Linked DNA regions of Homo sapiens: region 1 is linked to region 2. Evidence: promoter capture Hi-C in 16 types of primary human blood cells and fetal thymus (Javierre and others, 2016). All regions are on one chromosome and are shown on one strand. Each heading gives the region's core, a stretch centred on a gene start or on the middle of the fragment in contact. The rest is flanking DNA. Distances are from core to core; before and after follow the strand shown.

Evidence for each region. The method cuts DNA at HindIII sites, captures the fragments that hold promoters and counts their contacts. A CHiCAGO score of 5 or more calls a contact.
Region 1: a contact is called between a fragment that was not itself captured here and the fragment with the promoter of LINC00842 in region 2, in 2 of 17 cell types (megakaryocytes and total CD8 T cells). The highest score is 5.6, in megakaryocytes.

Annotation. Positions count from the first base shown.
Region 1 is chr10:46,536,037-46,539,817 of GRCh38, reverse strand. LOC124902419 (a long non-coding RNA gene) reads right to left here and starts at 2,549. Exons shown (of 2, transcript XR_007062138.1): 1 at 1-2,549. RefSeq lists an enhancer at 3,496-3,781. The HindIII fragment of the contact is 2,757 bases long and covers 813-3,569 here.
Region 2 is chr10:46,397,024-46,400,427 of GRCh38, reverse strand. It overlaps LINC00842 (long intergenic non-protein coding RNA 842), which reads right to left and starts at 2,066. Exons shown (of 4, transcript NR_033957.2): 1 at 1,635-2,066. RefSeq lists an enhancer at 3,191-3,404. The HindIII fragment of the contact is 4,014 bases long and covers 1-3,307 here.

The DNA of each region.
Region 1 (3,781 bases), core at 942-3,441, 140 kb before region 2:
GACTAGCCAGGCCAACATGGTGAAATCCTGTCGCTACTAAAGATACAAAAATTAGCTGGGCGTGGTGGCGGGTGCCTGTAATCCCAGCTACAGTCAGGAGAATCGCTTGAACCCAGGAGGTGGTGGTTGCAATGAGCTGAGATTGTGCCGCTGCACTCCAGCCTGGGCAACAGAGCGAGACTCTGCCAAAAAAAGAAAAAAAAAATTAAGATATGTCTTGTAGATAATACTGCCACATATAACAATATTTTCTTTATTTTCTTCCTGGGCATATTGTATGGCATAGTATACAAGTGCCTTTTAAAATTAAACCAGACTTCTTTTTCTGGACTTTATGTTACACCTCACATTTTTTTTAACTTAATAGATTTATTTCTTAGATGAGATTTAATTAAGAGAAAAAGTATGCAGAAAATACAGAGTTCCCCTACACTTTCTCACTCTCATACACTTTCTCCTATTATGAGCTTGCATAGTGTACAACATGGTACATTTGTTACAATTAATGCACCAATATTGATGCATTACTGTTTCCTAAAGTTCATGGTTTAAAGTTTACTCTTTGTGTTGGACACTTCTCTGGATTTTGAAAATCCATGTGGTGTATCTCCCACTCCAGTAGCATACAGAATAGTTGGACCACCTAAAAATCCCCTGTGCTCCGTCCATTCACCCCTCTTACCTTCCCCAGGACTCCTGGCAACCACTGATCTTTTTACTGTCTCTATAGTTTTCCTGAATGTCACAGAGTTGGCTTCATGTAGCATGTAGCCTTTTCAGACAGGCTTCTTTCACCTAGCAATATGGATTTAAGCTTCCTCCATGTATTTTCATAGCTTGAGAACTCATTTCTTTTTAGTGCTGAAAAATGTTCTGTTGTCTGGGCATACTGCCATTTATTCATCTACCAAAGGGCATCTTGGTTGCTTTCAGGTTTTGACTATTATGAATAAAACTACTATAAATATTCATGTGCAGGTTTTGATGTGGACATATGTTTACTTCAGTTGGTTAAATACGCAGGGCAACATTGCTGTAAGACTATGTTTAGCTTCATAAGAAACTGCCAAACTATCTCTGTACAATTTCGTATTCCTACTAGCAATGAATGAGAGTTCCTTTTTCTCATATAAAAATAAATATCCTTGTATGTATAGTTTTATGTTCAGGTGTGAGTATATCTGTAGGATAAATTTTTCATCAAGTGGTACATGTAAAATATCTACCGGTATTGGCAAATTGCTCCCCAGAAAGATTGCACCAATAATACATGAAAACGCATATTTTCTCATACCCACGCCAATATTTGATTGTTAATCGAACTTTAATATTTTGGCTAATTTGATAAGTGAAGGAACAATGTCTTCCTAGTTATTGTGATTTGCAATCTGTTCCCTGTGAGTGAGGTTGTGGTCTGCCGGACTGCGTGAGTGAGAATTCCTGTTCTGGCACTCTCAAGCTGTGTGATGCTGGGAAAGTTGCTGAACCTCCCTGGACCTCAGTTTCTTCATCTATAGAATGAGGATGGTAATGGGTCTTTACCTTATTAATTGGATTGGAGGATTTAATGGCATCATTCATGTAAAGTGCCAGCACAGTTCCTGGCTCAAAATAAGGGCCAAGTAAATGTAAGCTATTATTATTCTCCAATATGTTCATAAGCACTTGAATTTCTTCATTTCTGATCTGCCTATGTTCATATCAATTTCCCAGGATTTTTTCTTATTGATTGGTTAGAGCTCTTTGTATATTAATAACATACGTTTATTTTTTTCATATAAGTTACAAGTATTTTTTTATTCCAGTGTTTCATTTGTCTCCTGTTTATCAGATCCTGGCTCCAAACCAGTGCAACATCCTTCTCAGGGACACAGCATTTTAAATCTTACAAAGCCCCTCATTTCCCATCTGTCATTTATGTCTCAGGACATCCACATGAGGCAAGCTGATGTATTTTTCAGTAAAGAAGGAGACTTTATTGACCAGGCAGGGCGAGTGACTTGCCTAAGGGCACAGAAGGAATTAGTGGTTTGTACAGACTGAAATGGAGGGTCCTGGCCCCTAGGTACCACCTCCTCCACTCTTAAAGAAGGGGAGAGGGAATCTGGAGGTGCAGGAAGGAAAAGGTCAAGGTCATCATGACAGACAGCCTCACCCCATCCCCTCTCAGAACCCAAGAGCCTGGGTCCTTTTTTTTCTGTTAAGTTCTGACCATTCTCTCCTGATAAATCAAGGGAAGAATGCGAGTAAAGGGTATGTGTTACTCGGGCGAGACTCCCTGCTTGGAAGGTCTAGGAGGGGAGGTATGTGTGTGAGTGTGTGTGTGTGTGTGTGTGTGTGTGTGTGCATTCTTTCTGTCAAGTTGCCCAGCAGGTGAGCTGAAAGCTGGCTCTCTTAACTTGGGGATGAGCAATAGAGTCAGGTCTCGGTTCGTCATTTTCCAATTTCATCAGCTTTGAAAATATTTTAATAATAAAATCCAAGCATTTGATTTTCCTGACTAGTTGTTTATTCTGATTTATTGGCTATGCATGGTGCCTGAAGCTCCTCCAAACTCCCAAGGGTATCCCTGCATGTCTCAGGATGTCTCTTAACCCAGTGCCATGTGAGGGACAGAACCTAGACCAGGCATTCAGAGCCAGGTACCATTGTGCCTACCCTACTCACTGCTAGATGATGCTAGTGAGGTGCTCACACCTCTCTGGGCTTAGTCCCTCCATTGTAAGGCAAATGGGAGGCCTGCTGCCTCTGCCTTGCTGGGTTGTTGGTATGGCTGAAATGAGGGGATGAAGGTGATGTGGAAAACTTGATAGGAGAGTGGCTGCCGTGTGTCCATTCTGGTCTCCTTTGTCTCATGTCAAGCCCAGGGACTGGTTCTTTTTCTCTCTTCGGGTCTGTGACTTCTGGGAATCCTGCTTGCCTCGGTGCCCCCTGGTGAGGTGGTGCCATATAGGTTGCTTTAGCACATCACCGAGAGGGACTCTCCAAACCCTATGCTAAGTGTTCACCGCCAGAACACTTGCATTTGGGCCAGACCGGGCTAGGGTACCTAACCATAGCTTCCTGGGTTCATTTCACAGGGTGGACAGCAACTGAGAGATGTCCAGGGAAATTTCCCTTTTTAAGAGATAGGGGTTCTGGGGCCCATAAGGGCAGGAAGTATCCCCAACCACAGGCAAGTTCATGAAGCCCATAGGGAGTAGGATGGAGCCAGTTGCCAGGAGCAGGGAAAGGTTCATGTCTTTGCTCCTCCATGTACCCAGGGACTCAGCACCACCTGCAAGTTGATGGAAAGGCAGAATCTCAGCACACTCTGAGCCCCCGAATCAGAGTCTGCATTTTAACAGAACCCCTAGGTGAGGCAGAAGCCCACTACTCCAGTATCATTCATTCATTCACTCACCTAGCAAACATGCCTGAGGCCGACTCTGTGCCGTGCCCTGTGCTGACGAAGACCGGCCAAAAGACCTTGTTCTGGTCTTCCTGAAGCTCAGGTGGAGCAGACACCCCAACGGCCAACAAATGTGAAGATTGAGAACTGTGATGGGAGCCTGAGGTGGGAGCAGCTAAGCTTCCCTGGGGAATTGGGGGTCAGGGAAGTAGTCCCAAGAGGCTGAGTACCTCCTGTGTGGCAGGGGCAGGGTGGCCTTTGCTCCCTAGTATCTTTTTTTTTTTTGAGATGGAGTCTCACTCTGTTGCCCAGGCTGGAGTGTAGTGGCGCTACCTTGGCTCACTGCAACCTCCGCCTCCCAGGTTCAAGTGATTATTCTGCCTCAGCCTC
Region 2 (3,404 bases), core at 817-3,316:
TGGCTGGGGTCTCTAGAGTGGTGCAGAGATTTATTTTCACCATTTACTCTTTTGTACTACTTGATTTTTATCAAGTGCGTGCATTACTTTTTTGCCTTTTAGGTTTTTATTTTATGTATGTTTAGACTTTTAAATTTTCAAATAATCATAGATTGACAAGAATTTGTGAAGGGGTCCCAATATCCTTCACCCAGTTTCTCCACTGTTTACGTTTTACATTCTACAAAACAATATCAAAACAAAGAAACTGACATTAGCACAATGTGTGTTCTTCTATTACATTGTATCACATGTGTAGATTCCTGTAACCACCAAGACACAAAACTATCCCATCATCCCAAGATCTCTCCTGCTACCTCTTTGTAGTCACACTTCCCCACCACCGCCTCTAACGCCTGCCAACCACTAATCTGTTTTCACTGTTTATAATTTTGCCCCTGGAAGAATGTTATACAAGTGAAATCGTACAGTATGTGACTTTTTGAGATTGGTTTTTTTCACTTAGCCTAATGCTCTTGAGATCCATCCATTTAGTTATTTGCATGAATAATGTTTCTTTTTATTGCTGAATATTGGCATAGATGTGTCACTTAGTTTAAGCATTCACTTAGTGAGGGACATTTTGGTTCTTTTCTAGTTTCTGGCTATGATAGGAAGACACAGGAGAAAATCATCTGGACCTAGGAGTTGAGGATGAGTTCATAGGCATGGCACCCAAGTACGATTCATTAAAGAAAGAATTGATAAATTGGACTTCATCAAAATTAAAAACTTTGCCTCTGCAAAATATTCTGTTAAGATGATGAAAGGACAAGCTATGGAGGGGAGAAAATATTTGCAAACTGCATATCTGACAAAGGACTCACATTTACAATGCATAAAGAGCTCTCAAAACTCAACAGTAAAAAAAAAAATCTGATAAGAAATTGGGCAATAGACATGAAGAGACATTTCATGGCCGAGTCAAATCAGCATGTGGAAATATATTTAACATCATTAGCCTTTGGGGAAATGCAAATTGAGATCATGAGAAATCACTGCACACTTATTTGAGCAGTTGAAATAAAAATATAATGATAAAACCAAATGCTAGCAAGGATGCAGAGAAACCAAATTTCTCATCCCTTGCTTGTGAGAATATAACATGATACACACAGCCACTCCCAAAAATAGATTGACAGTTTCTCAAAAAACATGCACTTACCATATTACTCAACAATCACATTCCTGGGCTTTTATCAGAGAAATTATAATTTAAGTTTGCACAAAAAGCTACACACAAATGCTCATAACTGCTCTATTCGTCATGTTTTTATTGGCAGGTAATTTACATACAAAGAAATTCAAAAATCTTAAATTTCACAATTCAATGTGTTTTGTCAAATGCCTGCACTCCTGTCCCTCCCCCACTGTAAGATTTACAACACTCTAGCACCCCCAAAAAGTTATTTCATGCCCCCTTCAGCTAACCTCTACCATGCCACTCCATCCATAAACCCCAAAGCAACTATTAAAAAAAAAAAAAAAAGGCAAAAACCGCAATTACTTTTGCACCAACCTAATACTAGTCTGATTTTTAAATCACAGATTCATTTTCATATAAATGGAATCATACAATGTTTATTCTTTCATACCTGACTTCTTTCATTCAGGAACACGATTCAGAGCTTCTGCTGTGCAGTAGGGGACATCAATAGTTCATTTTCTTTTTATTGTCTGCTAACATTCCATTGTATGGATTCAACCTAGTCTGTTTATTCATTCTTCTTACTGATGAAGTTTTTTTCTCACGGCTTAAGTCCAAGGTGTGTCTTTTTCGTCCAGCCAGGTGGCCCCGGCAGGTCGCTCCTCAGGGACCCACATGGGTCAGGGCGGTGCAGCAGTGACCCACAGGGGCCAGTGCAGTTGAAGTGGCTTTGAAACCTGATTGGAGAAACAGACTGCTCAGCTGTTAAGAACACACAGCGCTCCAGAAAACTGGTGTTCAACACAACGCGTCACTCCGGCTTCCACTGCTGCTGCGGAGAGTCAGGTTCTCCGGCAAGGCCCCGCGCGCCCGCCCCCGCGCGCCCGCTTCTCTGTCCAGGGAACGCCTTTCTGCGGGCGGAGGCGGCTACGAGGGGGCGCTGCGAAAGCGGATTTCCAGGCACGCCTGGCGCCACTAAGCGGCGCTGAGACGGCGCTGCCTCCTGACTGCCGGTTGGAGGCTACAGGGGCTCTGGGGCAAGGGCCGCTTTTAGGAGTTTGCTGGTCACGAGGGGGGACGCGACCTCGTCCAAGATCTGTCTGCAAGGGACCCTTCCCAGCCGATGTGAACACAGCCCGGGGAAAGGGGTCTTCCGGGGAGCAAAGGCAGCCCGGGAAGAGGAGTAGGGGCTGAAACCAAAGGCAGCCTGGGTACCCAGGTTTTCCCAGGGGACAAGTCCCCCAGTTAGCTGGGCACAGGGAGGCATGGAGAGCGGCAGCAACTGCGTTGGGATGGGGCGGCTGCCCCAGGTTGGGGCGGTGACCCATGTTCCACCAGGCCAGGCGCAGGGCTGAGGTGGCTGACTCCTGTTTCACAAGTGAAGACCTGGTCACCCCAGCAGCAAGGCATTCCGGAGTGGGAGAATTCCTGAGTCCTGGGGAGGAAGCCGTGGTTACAGGGCTGTGGCCCTGAGCAGGAGCTGGCTGGCCCAGCAGGGTGGGCCGAGCACTTCAGTCAAGGCTGAGCGCCAGGCACCAGGGACTCAGGTCTGAGAGACCTGATGTACATCCTGCTCCAGAGCAGATCACAGAGATGCGCCCGCATGAATCCCCAGGCTAAGCCCAGAATTCCGTGGAAGATGCCCATGGGCCAGGAACACGGGTAGTCACCGCGCTAGGGCATCACACAGGGCCCCCCTTGGCCAAATACCACGAGGGAACTTAGACACCTGCATGGGGCCATGGAAGTGCCTGCAACCTCACACTCAGGCCTAGGGCTTACCGAGGTATTGCAGATATTTGTGTTCTCAGAGTAGGAGCTTAGGAATCAGTATCTTCTCTTCGCTACAGGGACAGAGATGCAGTGGCCTAGGACACATCACAAATATTTAAAACGATGTCCTTGGTCAAGGACAGAGGTAGCCAAGGCCAGCCTTCTCCCAGGAAACTAACCCAGGACCCCAAAGCACAGAGCTGTTAGGTGGGAGGGAATTGGTCTGTATGTCTCCCTATAGTGTTGCAACACTTCGGCGCTGGGCTCCCTGTCCCAGACTCACCTTCTATACTCAAGCCAGAGGCCTACGAAAGCCGGGTTAAGATCTTCCCCTGCCTGTCCCTGTAAAGCTTCCCCACTGTCTCTGGAAATCATTTGAGCTTCTTAGCCCCACAGCATGAGCCCGCTCTGACTCAGGCCCTGACAAGCTCTTTCTCTTCTGTCT